Linked DNA regions of Homo sapiens: all the other regions are linked to region 2. Evidence: promoter capture Hi-C in human tissues and cell types (Jung and others, 2019). All regions are on one chromosome and are shown on one strand. Each heading gives the region's core, a stretch centred on a gene start or on the middle of the fragment in contact. The rest is flanking DNA. Distances are from core to core; before and after follow the strand shown.

Region 1 (4,512 bases), core at 1,702-4,201, 55 kb before region 2:
TTCCTTTTAGTTCTATCATGAAGTTCATTGGTTTGTCTGGGGCTAAATTTAAATACATAAAATGATATCTGTGAAACCACCTTTGCAAAGATTATGGCAGTGAAAGAAATCTAACATGGCTGACTCCATTTTACTTCTAGCCTAACAGGCTAGTTGTTCTCACTCGTTCCTGGGCATAGGACAAGCTAACCATGGGAGCAATTTAGTTTGTAGTTTAACTTGGAAGCAAGGATAATAATAGTTCTTCCCTAAAACTAACCCCCTCCTTGTTCAGGAACCAAAAACGAATAAAAAGCCGTGAAATTAGAATTATGAGAGGAACCTGAATTCTGCTAAGATTCAGAATAGGCATAGTTTCTATTAATCCTGCTCAGGAGTCATGTGGCCAGAGGTCACAAGATTTCCAACTTCCCCAATTGCTCCTGTAGATAACATTGTTCTTGTAGAACCTAAGATTGTTCTTTTGAGATGTTTTTCCGACTTTTGGATTCTGGTAACTGACTGACCCCATTCAGACCTGTGACTCATGACTTAAGTAGTCCTGTGGCCCCCTCCTTGAGGCAGACTTAGTGCACAAGGACCGTTTTCCACACCCCTATGATTTCATCCTTAACCAGTTAGCAGCACCCAATCCCTAGCCCCCTGCCCACCAAATTATCCATAAAACCCCCAGCCTCTGAGTTCTCAGGGACATGGATTTGAGTAATAACTCCAGTCCTTCCACTTGCCCAGCCTTGCATTAATTAAACTCTTTCTCTACTGCAACCACCAAGTCTCAGTGAATTGGTTTGTCTGTGCAATGGGCAAGAAGAACCTGTCAGGTGGTTACATCTGCATCATTCCCAACTTATCCTCTGTTTTTCTATCTTCTCAGCATCCCTATTTTCCATGATTCTGGCTTTTTATGTTTGTATTCATATTTTCTTTCTACTTGTATTAAGTGAACATGTATATTCATGTTATTGAATTTTTATACATAAAAACAGATTATAAGTAAATAATCTCTTCCCACTTCCATTTTTAGACCTATAAAGGTAGATAATAGTAACTACCACATAGCATTGTTATGAGGCCAAAATAAGGCAAAATATATAAAGGTTTTAGCATAGCCTTGCCTATTAAATGTGAGTGTTCTCGTTTCCTCTCTGAAATGGAAGCATTGGCTGCCATGTGTGGCTCATTGAAAATGTTTTCAATCGGATATGTCAGATCTGAGGTGTGGGACTATGTAGTCAAGGCTAAAATAGTCCACAGATATGAGCATCCTCCAGCATCTCATAGCTGGGTGCCAAGTCAACAGTCACCTTACAGTCTTCAGGGTTCTCTCAGCCTTCACTACAATAAGTGCAATTTTATGCAGTGTTGGTGTTCAATAGTCCACGATCTTGGGCAAGTTATTAACCTCTCTAAAGATTCGGTTCATTCATCTATAGAGCAGAAAGAATAGTATTATCTCTCTCTCTTTAGACTTTAATGAAGATTATGTGAAATGGAACATGTAAATTGTTTATATCATGTAGTGCTTAATGTTAGTTGTTAAATGTAAGCCCAATAATTAGTACTATTGTCATTCCTTGTACTTATATTTGGCATCACGCTATCTATCTCACCTTATTTTTCTAAGTTAGAAAAGCAGGTATTAAATTATTACCTCCATTTTGCAGATAAGGAAATTGAGGCTTAGAAATGTTTCATGACTCCACAGTTTAAAAAGTGATGGATATAAGTAGAAATTATTGCATAAGAAGGATTTAGAGTCATCTAAAGTTGTAGAATAAACTAGGGCAGTTACTTCAGGTTCAGTCCATGCCAAATTTGAGTCTTAAAACTTTTAAAAAACATTTAATTGGAAGGCCATTAGGCTGAGATGGCTCCAGTGTTTTGGGTTCTGTATTAGTCCATTCTTGCATTGCTATAAAGAAATACCTGAGACTGGGTAATTTATAAAGAAAAGTGGTTTCATTGGCTCACAGTTCTGCAGATTGTACAGGAAGCATAGTGGCTTCTGGGGAGGCCTTAGGAAACTGATAATCATGGCAGAAGGCAAAGGGGAAGCAGGGACATCTTACATGGTTGGAGCAGGAGGAAGAGAGAGAGAAGGGGGAGGTGCCACAAATTTCTATGCAACCAGATTTCATGAGAACTAATTCATTCTGCAGTACCAAGAGGGGATGATACTAAACCATTGATGAAGGATCCACCCCCATGATCCAATTATTTCCTATCAATCAGGCCCCACCTCCAATACTGGGGATTACAACTGAAAAAACAGAACTTAAGTTTAGCCAATCTGAAATCACCAACTAACCTCCAACTAGAGACTTCCCACTAGATTGTACCTAAACAAGGCAAAAGGCCTATCTGTAACCAATCAAGCAATTTCTTTACTTTGCTTTCATGTGCACTCTACAGAAGCCCGCTGCTCATGCTGCTGAAGCAGAGTTCTCTGAACCTTTTCCAAGTGGAGTTCTGCCTGATTCACGCTCAAATAAACTTTGTTAAATTAATTTTGTCTAAATTTTTTAAACAACATATATAGGACTAGAATGAAATGTCCATCACCTAGCATAGCACCAAGCTCATTTCAGGGATTTTAGAACGGCTTTAAAAAAAAAGAATAAATAAATAAAAGCTTTATTGAAGTATAATTGATATACAAAGACCTGCACATATTTAATGAGTGATATTTATTGCAATTTGATGAGTTTGGATATACGCAAAAACCATCAGTACAATTAAGGTAATGGACATGCCCATTACCTTCCAGTTTTGTTATGTTGGCAGTAAGAACATGTAACATGAGATCTTCCCTCTTAAATTTTCTGGTGCACAATATCATATTATTAACAGTAGATAATATGTTGTATAGAAGACCTCTAGAATTTATTAATCTAGCATAACTGAAACTTTATACTTATTGAACAACAACTCTCCATCTTCCCACTCCTTGGCAACCACTACTGTGATCCCTGCTTCTATGATTTTGACCATTATAGACATGTCATAAAAGTGGAATCATGTAGTATTTGTTCTTCTGTGCCTGGCTTATGTCACTTAGCCTAATGTCTCCCAGGTTCATTTGTGCCCGTGTTGGCACAAATGGCAGGATTTTTTTCTTTTTAAGACTAAACAACATTCCATTTTGTATATATACCATGTTTTCTTTATCCATTCATCTGTTGATGGACATTTGTGTTGTTTCCATATCTTTGCTATTGTGAATAATGCTTCGATGAACATGGGAGTGCAGAGATAAATGAAGGCTTCAATGCACAAATAGAAACAATGGGTAAATGTAGAGCCGCACTCGGGAGACAAGCCTATTTTAAGCTGAGAAGAAGATTATATTCCCATCAGCTTACTCTTTCCTAGAGCTATCTGTTGTTCTCTAAAAGGCAGAGCATTGGATGGTGTTGAGATTGACTCAGCTTGGGAGTTTTGGAGCTAAAACAGATCTGGGCTCAAATCCTGGGTTTTGGTATTGTTAATATATTAAATCTTTGGTATTCTAAGGAATGCCCACTACTTTCAAAAGACATAAGTAACCTCACTACTCCAGTCATGAACTTGAAGCCAGTTGAGATTTTGAGTAAAGTAAAAAAAAAAAGACTTACTCATCAAATAATCTGAAATATTTTCTTGTGAATGTAAGACAATTTTTCAAGGCAAGTACTGGAGGATTTACTTTATTTATAGACAGAAACCTATAAATAGGAAAAAAAATGTGTTGTCTTACCAAGAAAGGACTAGTCCATTTTGCATCTATCTCATTCATTCATTTTATCCATTTCTATTCATCAAGGCACCACATTTTTCTCTCTTTAAAAAATCTAACTTATTTCATGCAGAATGGATTCTAATACGAGGTACCCTGTAATGTCAGGGAGCTATCCTAAGTATTATGTTAACTTCCATTTCTACACATTTTTCATACGGATACTCATATTACATACTCCTTGGAGATTTAAAAGGTTTGCATTGCCTTCATATACCCCCAAAACTCAGCATGATTTGTTCAAAATTTTACTAGTCAGCACTGAAATAAAAAAAAATGGTACATCATGCACAATGATAAACTACCCCATGTGGTTTGGATAAATTAAATACTTTAAGCTTTCAGTCTCCCTAATGATTTGGAAATGAAGAAGCTGTGATTTATGACTCCAGCTGATAGGTTAGATCTGAAGTTTACACTTTGAAAAATGCCGTATTTAAATTCCCCTATAAATAAAAAATAATATTGCTTTAAAAGCCCAGCCTAAGATATGTATGTAATAAATTAGAGATACTCATATTGAGTGGGGGAAATCTCCAAGACTGATGACTTTCTCCCTTGAAAAAATGCACTGAGTGAACCAGATCTAGGTCTGTGTCTATCTGCTACCACTTAATCACCAGTTATTGTCCCTTTCTGTCCAGTCATTCATTTGCTCATCCTAATGACTACTGTTAAAACCACCTGCACTAGTTCAGTTGTAAAGATGATCTGATGTGGTTTTTAAGTCCAAATCA
Region 2 (4,473 bases), core at 709-3,208:
TGACACTAGAAATATTTTAGTCAGGTCTAAAGGAACAGAAGTTAATGATAAAATGATAAACAATAAATAATAGCTACTGTTTCATGAGAAAATTACACACATCTTACTTGACTTAAACCTCACAACAGAATTGAGCAGAAAGTTATTACCCTGAGAAAGGGGACTTAAGGTTGGCAGGATAACAAGTGGGAGAATCTAGAGGTAAAGTCATATCTATCTTATTGGAAACACTCAAGAACGTCAAATAAGCATGAGAATTTGAGCAAGACTGAAGGAGAACGTTTAAGTTCCCTTTCCAACTCATATCCCAATTCTGGAATCTAATTTCTGTAACAAGTAACTATATTCCTTACTACAGAAGTAAAGATGGCCCCATGGAGAAACTGGCAGCATGGCATGATGGAAATGGAATAGAATCAGGAATTGTTTTGTACCTGTGTGTGTGTGACTTTGGTGTTCTGACTCAGACACATATTTGAGAGGTAGAGAGGGGAGAAGAGGGTTGCCACATTATGTAACAGAAAGGAGCCCACTGCTTAAACACTTACCTTGTGCCAGACATTGCACTAGGACTTTATTACCTGCAACCCATCCTGCAAAACTGTGAAGATTTGATATGATCATTCTCATTTTATGGTTGAGAAACAAGGGTTAAGGACATTAAAAATTTACTCAATGTTTAAACATTTGCCTGTCTTATTCTAAAGCCCCTTCTCTTTTCACAATCCCTTTAAGAAATGGACATCCAATATTTGAGTGGCAGAGGCAAAAACATGGCCTACCAGAACCATTATGATAGCTTTACAATATGCCCACCAATTATTTGATAGTCCTCCTGCCAAATGGTGAAGGCTAATTACCCTCCTACAGAATGTGACTCACTTCTAATGAATAAAATATGGCACAAGTAAAAGTGTGCGATTTCAGAGACTAGGTCATAAAGAACGCAGTGGCTTCTTCCCTGCTCTCTCTTTCTTAGGTCATTCTCTCTGGGTGAATCCAGCTGACATGTTGTGAGGACACTCAAGCAGCTTTATGGAAAAGCCCACATGGTGAGCAACTGAGGCCTCCTACCAACAGCCAACAAGAAACCGGGGCCTTTGCCAACAGCCAAGTAAGTGAGACATTTTGGAAAGTGGATCCTCCAGCCCCCGTTAGGCTCCCAGATGACAACATCCCCTGCTCTCATCTTGACCACAACCTCATGAAATACCCTTATCCAGGATACCCAGTTAAGCCACACCACAATTGCTATTTTACAAAACTGTGAGCTATGTGTTAGTTGTTTTTAAGCTATTAAGTTTTGAGGTGATCTATTACACAATGATAAACAACTAATACACCCATCCAGTGCTGAAGAAAGGGGTTGTCAGGAGGGTAGAATTTGCACTATTAAATCTTCATAGAGTGCTATTTCCCGTCACTACAGCACACTTGTCACCAACTATAAAGAATTAGGTCAGGGAATTTCTTTGGTTGCAGCCCATTTTGCCTTTGGTTGTTAATGGTAGAACCGTTTCCCCACAATCTGCAGGAAATAAGAATCAGAAAGAAGGACACACCATTCCATAGCACAGAACACAAGTAGATGGCTCCCATGAAGAATCTAGCATCATGGTATGGCAGAAGCAGAATGGACTCAGGAATCATGGTGCCTACACTGGAATTTCAGATCGGCCACTGACACAATGGACACATTATTCAACATTTCCAAATCTTGGCATTCTTATCCACAAAGTGAAGATAATAATTGTCAATTCACAGGTGATTATGATTTAAAGAGATTACTTTTGAAGAGTTCCTAACACATTCAGTCAACATTTAATGATGCTTCAGGCACTGTGTTCATTGCTAGTGAGCGTATGACACACACAGCCATACGGTCACAGAGCTTTCAATGAAAAGTAACATAATTGCTCATTTCACCAGGCCCCCGGCTTGGGGCGCCTTCCTTCCCCATGGCGGGACACCTGGCTTCGGATTTCGCCTTCTCGCCCCCTCCAGGCGGTGGGGGTGATGGGCCATGGGGGGCGGAGCCGGGCTGGGTTGATCCTCTGACCTGGCTAAGCTTCCAAGGCCCTCCTGGAGGGCCAGGAATCGGGCCGGGGGTTGGGCCAGGCTCTGAGGTGTGGGGGATTCCCCCTTGCCCCCCGCCGTATGAGTTATGTGGGGGGATGGCGTACTGTGGGCCTCAGGTTGGAGTGGGGCTAGTGCCCCAAGGCGGCTTGGAGACCTCTCAGCCTGAGAGCGAAGCAGGAGTCGGGGTGGAGAGCAACTCCAATGGGGCCTCCCCGGAACCCTGCACCGTCCCCCCTGGTGCCGTGAAGCTGGAGAAGGAGAAGCTAGAGCAAAACCCGGAGAAGTCCCAGGACATCAAAGCTCTGCAGAAAGAACTCGAGCAATTTGCCAAGCTCCTGAAGCAGAAGAGGATCACCCTGGGATATACACAGGCCGATGTGGGGCTCATCCTGGGGGTTCTATTTGGGAAGGTGTTCAGCCAAAAGACCATCTGCCGCTTTGAGGCTCTGCAGCTTAGCTTCAAGAACATGTGTAAGCTGCGGCCCTTGCTGCAGAAGTGGGTGGAGGAAGCTGACAACAATGAAAATCTTCAGGAGATATGCAAAGCAGAAACCCTCATGCAGGCCCGAAAGAGAAAGCGAACCAGTATCGAGAACCGAGTGAGAGGCAACCTGGAGAATTTGTTCCTGCAGTGCCCGAAACCCACACTGCAGATCAGCCACATCGCCCAGCAGCTTGGGCTCGAGAAGGATGTGGTCCGAGTGTGGTTCTGTAACCGGCGCCAGAAGGGCAAGCGATCAAGCAGCGACTATGCACAACGAGAGGATTTTGAGGCTGCTGGGTCTCCTTTCTCAGGGGGACCAGTGTCCTTTCCTCCGGCCCCAGGGCCCCATTTTGGTACCCCAGGCTATGGGAGCCCTCACTTCACTGCACTGTACTCCTCAGTCCCTTTCCCTGAGGGGGAAGTCTTTCCCCCAGTCTCCGTCATCACTCTGGGCTCTCCCATGCATTCAAACTGAGGTGCCTGCCCTTCTAGGAATGGGGAACAGGGGAGGGGAGGAGCTAGGGAAAGAGAACCTGGAGTTTGTGGCAGGGCTTTTGGGATTAAGTTCTTCATTCACTAAGGAAGGAATTGGGAACACTAAGGGTGGGGGCAGGGGAGTTTGGGGCAACTGGTTGGAGGGAAGGTGAAGTTCAATGATGCTCTTGATTTTAATCCCACATCATGTATCACTTTTTTCTTAAATAAAGAAGCCTGGGACACAGTAAAAAAAAAAAAAAAAGAAAGAAAAGAAAAGTAACATAATTGAGTAATAATTTTTTAAGTGTGGTAAAATGTGTGGCACGTAGTAGGTATTCAATAAATACTTGCTTTTTTCCTCCTTTTTACCTTTTCCTAGAGTGCTACTTGATGGTAGCTGTAGTTTTTCTTCAAGACATCCTATTTGTCCTGATACAAAACCTCTTTTGACCGCTAACGGCATAGTTCGGCCCTCACCATTCCCTCACATATTCCACAAAAATGTGAGCATTAACCATTCCCCATGATACAGATAATTCATTTTTTAATTTAATTTTTTAAAATTTTATTTATTTACTTATTTATTTTGAGACCAGGTTATGAGACTGGCTAATTTTTGTATTTTTGGTGGAGATGGGGTTTTGCCATATTGTCTAGGCTGGTCTCAAACTCCTGAGCTCAAGGGATCCTCCTGCCTGGGCCTCCCAAAGTACTGGGATTACAGGCATGAGCCATTGCACCTGGCCCGGATAATTTTTTTTCTTTTTTTGAGGTAGTGCCTTCCTTTATAGCTCAGGCTGGAGTGCAGTGGTGTGATCTCGGCTCACTGCAACCTCTGCCTCCCAGGTTCAAGTAATTCTCCTGCCTCAACCTCCTGAGTAGCTGGGATTACAGGCGCCCACTACCACGCCCGGCTAATTTTTGTATTTTTAGTAGAGATGGGGTTTCACCATGTTGGCCAGGCTGGTCTCGAACTCTTGACCTCAGGTGATCTGCCTGCCTTGGCCTCCCAAAGTATTGGGATTGTAGGCGTGAACCACCACGCCCGGCCCTGAAAATTCATTTTTAAAAGAACATCATATCTACCTTAAATGCATTAAGATTTCACATTAGACTCATTATTCATAGTGAACATTAGGAACTTAAGTCCACTCAGTAATAATGCACCTATTCATGACTCTTGATTCAAAGATGTGCACCTATTTACCCTGGACCAGCTCCTTGGAAGGACATGAAATAGAGGGTAATAATCACATCTTTCCAAATTTGCTATGAAACTGCATCGCCAAAAACTGAGACTCATTTTCCGATTGATGAATCAAATGACAACAAAATCTCCAGGGCATTCTGAAACCCAACAGGGATTAATGATTAGGCATACCAGTGGTAGTTAGGAGACTTGCCCAAATTTCCAGTTTTCTGCAGATGGCATC
Region 3 (4,298 bases), core at 1,405-3,904, 39 kb after region 2:
TAAAATTTTCTCCTAGCTGAGCCCACTGTCCAATTAAGGATCAGACAAAATTTAGAAGAAGCAAGTCACTTCTCCTTTCTGGATCTGTTTCTTCCTGTGCAAAAAGAGATGTTGCACAAGATAATCTCTGGTGCCCCTTCCAATTTAATATTTTATAATTACAGCCTAGGTTTTGAAGAATAAAAATATAATAAGAGAAGAGAGAAAGAAAGAGATGAGGAGTGGGGCGGGGGAAGAAAGGGGAGGAAGAGGAGGAGGAGGAAAAGCAGGAGAAAGGGGAAGGGAGAGGGGGAAGGAAGAAAGGGAGGGAGGGAAGAAACCTATTTGTAAGGCCAAGTTAAAAATTCATTGCCACAATAAATACTTCGGTGTGAGGCTGTAGAAATTGGCAAAATGAAAAAATTCTGGCATGTAAACCCACAGGTGAGTCCTAGGCTAAGAGAAGCATCTTCTACCTCCCTCACTTCCTGATCCCCATCCCATTAGCATTTCTGAAATGCCTGGAAAGATGCTCCCTAGCAGGGTAGAGTCAGGAACCCACTGTCTGTTCCTTTCTCATCTAATCTGAGCATTGGAAAGATGCTCCCTAGCAGGGTGGAGTCAGGAGCCTGCTGTCTGTTCCTTTCTCATTTAATCTGAGCATAATCTGGTGCTTTGGGCTGTGGAGCGGATTTCTCTCTCCAGTCTGTTTCTGCCTGTCCTGTCTTGAGGTGCACTAGGCAGGGATCTCAAGTGTGTCCTTGGCCTGCAGTGGGGACTTGTGCATCTGAAGGAGCAATCAGGCAGGTGGCCTGGGGCAGCCTGCTCCATAACGATGCCCTCATTCCCAGGAGCAAGACTGAATGCCAGTTACTCAAATCCCATTCCTGGCTTTCTGCTTCAGTCATTACTAAGAGTTTTTCATATCTTCTGGTGTTCAGGAAAATATTTCTATTTTCAGGAGAAGCAACTCTGCCTTATACTCGAAAATTAACCAGACATTCTATTATTGCTGAAATTCTTTCCTCGTATTGCATTTTATTTAGGCTTTTAAAAATCCTTTATTTATGCAGTTTGAATCAGGGGTATTTTCTGGCTTACAGGTTAGTAGAGAATTACAAAACATTCAAAATTTCAAAGATTCCCTAAGGGAGAAGTGATCTATTCCAATATGGGCTTATATTCCAGAAAAAAAAAAAAAAAAAGCGTACTCCCAGAAAGATTTGTCTGGGAAATGATTGCAAATGAGAAAACTCACTCAGATGTGAGAAATGATACCGCCCTGGACTTTCATGCTGGGCCCTAAGAATTATGACATGGATGTAAAAGAAGATTGCCACAAGTCGCCAGCTTGCCTGCTCCTTAAGATGCTTGAAGTCCCCAGTGAAAGCTGAGAAACATGAAATTACTTCTGAATGTGCCCACAGACAGGACAGTGTAAATTGTAATGACAGAGAAAAAGACCTGCTGCAGGCCTCCCTCACGCGATCCCAAGTGAGTTTTACAGTCGTGTAGTAGGATAGAGTGAGCCTCATTCTAAGGCTGACGAAGCTGAGGCTCAGTAACCCCAGTTTGATCAACTTGAGTCAGCAAGCTCAAAACTGGTGAAAGCCAGATTTTCTTATTTTTTTTTTCTACCCAGGCCTTCTACAACAGGTCTCTACAACTAGTGTCTTTTATGACCCAGTGCTGCTTTCTGATTGGGAACATACCAAGTTCAAGGTCCCCATGTGGTCCTGTATAGTATTCACAATACTATATAGTATGCAACTGTTCTATATCTGTGCTGTTCAATACAGTACTATATATAGTATGCACAATTTCCATGCAAGGAAAACATTTAATATCTTACAATGCACTTTCACACTTAGCATCCCACTTGACCCTTACAACAACTTCATGGGGTAAATATTTATTTCCCTGTTTATGAATAAAGAAATTGAGGCTCACGTTCTGTTAAAGCCATTGTTATGGCCTTAACCCATTCTATTATGCCTCCAAGAACACACAAAATCTGGTGGCTGTTCTGGGAGCTAACAAACTCTGCTTTAAGTCCTAACTCTGCCATTCTCCAACTTTGTGACCTCAGGCAAAATGCAAATTTTTTCTGCATCTCAGTGTTCACATGCGATAACTAGAGGGAAAGAGTACTTGCCTCATACGGCAGATTCTTCATTCATTCTACAAGCATTTATTCAGCATCTACTATGCTCTAAGTTCTGGAGATACAGTAATGAACAAAACAAAAGCCTCAGCATTTGTGGAGTTATGTTCTACTTATGGGAGACAGAAAAGAAAATATATTGCATTTGAAGGTGATAAATACTAAGAAATATAAAACAGGGAAAGAGAATAGGGAGTATTGGAAGGAGGAGTTCAGTTCAAATCAGAATGACCAGGAAAGACTGCAATTGAGAAAGCAACATGCAGTGAAGACTTCAAAAAGGAGTGAGGGGCCAGGCGCACTGGAGGAGGATTACTCTTGTAATCCTCGCACTTTGAGAGGCCAAGGCAGGCCAAACACTTGAGCTAAGGTGTTGGAGGCCAGCCTGGGCAACACAGCGAAACCCCATCTCTACAAATACAAAAAAATTAGCTAGGCATGGTGGTGGGCTCCTGTAGTTCCAGCTACTCAGAAGGTGGGGATGGGAGAAACACTTGAGTCCAGGAGGTCAAGGCTGCAGTGAGCTGAGATTGTGTCACTGCACTCCAGCTTGGGCAACAGAGTGAGACCCTGTCTCAAAAAATAAAGGGAGGAGTGGGCGGTGAAAGAGCAAGCTTTGTAAGTATCTGGAAGAAGAGCTTTCTAGGCAAGAGGAAACAGCAAGTTTAGAGGCCCAGAGGCAAGACACTGGGAGGGTGGTGCCTCTGTGTTCCAGAAACAGGGAGGCCATGTGGCTGCACTGGAGTGAGCGAGGGAGAAAGAAGTAGGAGGAAGATCAGAGATGTAACTGATAGTGCGAGGATGGGACACTAATTATGCAATGCTTTATGGGACCATTACAAGGACTTAGATTGTTTTCTCTAAAAGTAATTGGGAGCCATTGGAGGCTTTTGACGTAGGAGTGCCATGATCTGACTTCAGTTTTACCAGGATCACTCAAGCTGCTATGTTGTGTTAGACCGGAGGGATCAGGTGTGGGAGCCAGTTAGGGAGATGTTAAATGTTCTCTAGGAAAAGAGGATGGTGGTTTGGGCTGCAATGGTAGCCATTGAGATGGAGAAATGGTAGGAATTGGGTTTTATTTTGAAATCGAGCCAACAGGGTTTGCTGATGAGTTATATGTGAGTGGGAGAGAAGGAATGGGACTACGAGTTTCTTGGTCTGAGTAACTGCTTTTCACAAGAATGAGAGTATAGAAGAAGCAGCTCTGCAAGAGTGAGAAAGAACTGAACAATGAATGTATATTTTCTCCAGCTATACAGTGTCCAGCACAGAGTATGTGTTCCATAACAGGTAGATATTACTATTAATAATGTATCTGCTCACCTGGTTAAATATTTCTGCAGACCTTTGCCCTACATCCAAGCACTCTGAGAAAGCACATGGTCAGGCTGTTTTCCACCAGCAAATGGACCACAGAATCTTGGTACCATAGTGGTTTTTAAAGCCCATTGGCTACCCAAAACCCCTTTGACCCATCAAGCGTGCTCTGGACTCAATACCTTTGCACAGGCTGATCTCCCTCTCCACCCACCCTTCCTTCCTCTCAGCTTCTCCATACAGGAAATGGACAAAGGCACAAACTGGAAGTCAGTGCAGATTCAAGCTTTGGTTTTGTTCAGAGAGTATTCCTTAATGCTCACAGAAAATCTAGCCCAGCTTCTCCTATTACAAAACTGGAAGCTGAGGACTAGAAAGATGAAGTGGCTTGCAGCTTCCCCATCAGTATGACAAGGAAACTGTATTAAATAATTCCCAAGGATTCTTCTAGCTCTCACATGCTTTCAGGTTTTCAATAAACACAAGATACAATAAAAAGCAATCAAAATAATGACCAGCTGATTTTGCTTTCCTTCATTACCCTCATCTAAGCCACCAGCAAACTCTGCTAACTCTTCCTCCAAAATAGATCCCACTCTGTCACTCCTTTTTTTTTTTTTTTTTTTTTTTTTTTTGAGACGGAGTCTTGCTCTGTCACCTAGGCTGGAGTGGAGTGGCGCGATCTCGGCTCACTGCAAGCTCCGCCTCCCGGGTTCACGCCATTCTCCTGCCTCGGCCTCCCGAGTAGCTAGGACTACAGGCACCCACCACCACGCCCAGCTTTTTTTGTATTTTTAGTAGAGATGGGGTTTCACCGTATTAGCCACGATGGTTT

What was found. The method cuts DNA at HindIII sites, captures the fragments that hold promoters and counts their contacts. A contact is called where the count stands out against the background at its distance.
Region 1: a fragment that was not itself captured here is called in contact with the fragment with the promoter of POU5F1B in region 2 in 1 of the 25 tissues and cell types used here (ovary).
Region 3: a contact is called between a fragment that was not itself captured here and the fragment with the promoter of POU5F1B in region 2, in 1 of the 25 tissues and cell types used here (psoas muscle).

What each region holds. Positions count from the first base shown.
Region 1 is chr8:127,358,300-127,362,811 of GRCh38, forward strand. All of the region lies in intron 3 of CASC21 (cancer susceptibility 21), which reads left to right. The region is part of intron 5 of CASC8 (cancer susceptibility 8); the gene reads right to left. Among named protein-coding and RNA genes, the nearest start is that of CCAT2, 40 kb to the right of the region's middle. The HindIII fragment of the contact is 3,348 bases long and covers 1,278-4,512 here.
Region 2 is chr8:127,413,909-127,418,381 of GRCh38, forward strand. It overlaps POU5F1B (POU class 5 homeobox 1B), which reads left to right and starts at 1,959. Exons shown (of 1, transcript NM_001159542.3): 1 at 1,959-3,038. The coding sequence starts at 1,959. The coding sequence ends at 3,038. The region is part of intron 5 of CASC8 (cancer susceptibility 8); the gene reads right to left. The HindIII fragment of the contact is 11,415 bases long and covers 1-4,473 here.
Region 3 is chr8:127,452,429-127,456,726 of GRCh38, forward strand. The region is part of intron 4 of CASC8 (cancer susceptibility 8); the gene reads right to left. Among named protein-coding and RNA genes, the nearest start is that of CASC8, 28 kb to the right of the region's middle. The HindIII fragment of the contact is 4,462 bases long and covers 424-4,298 here.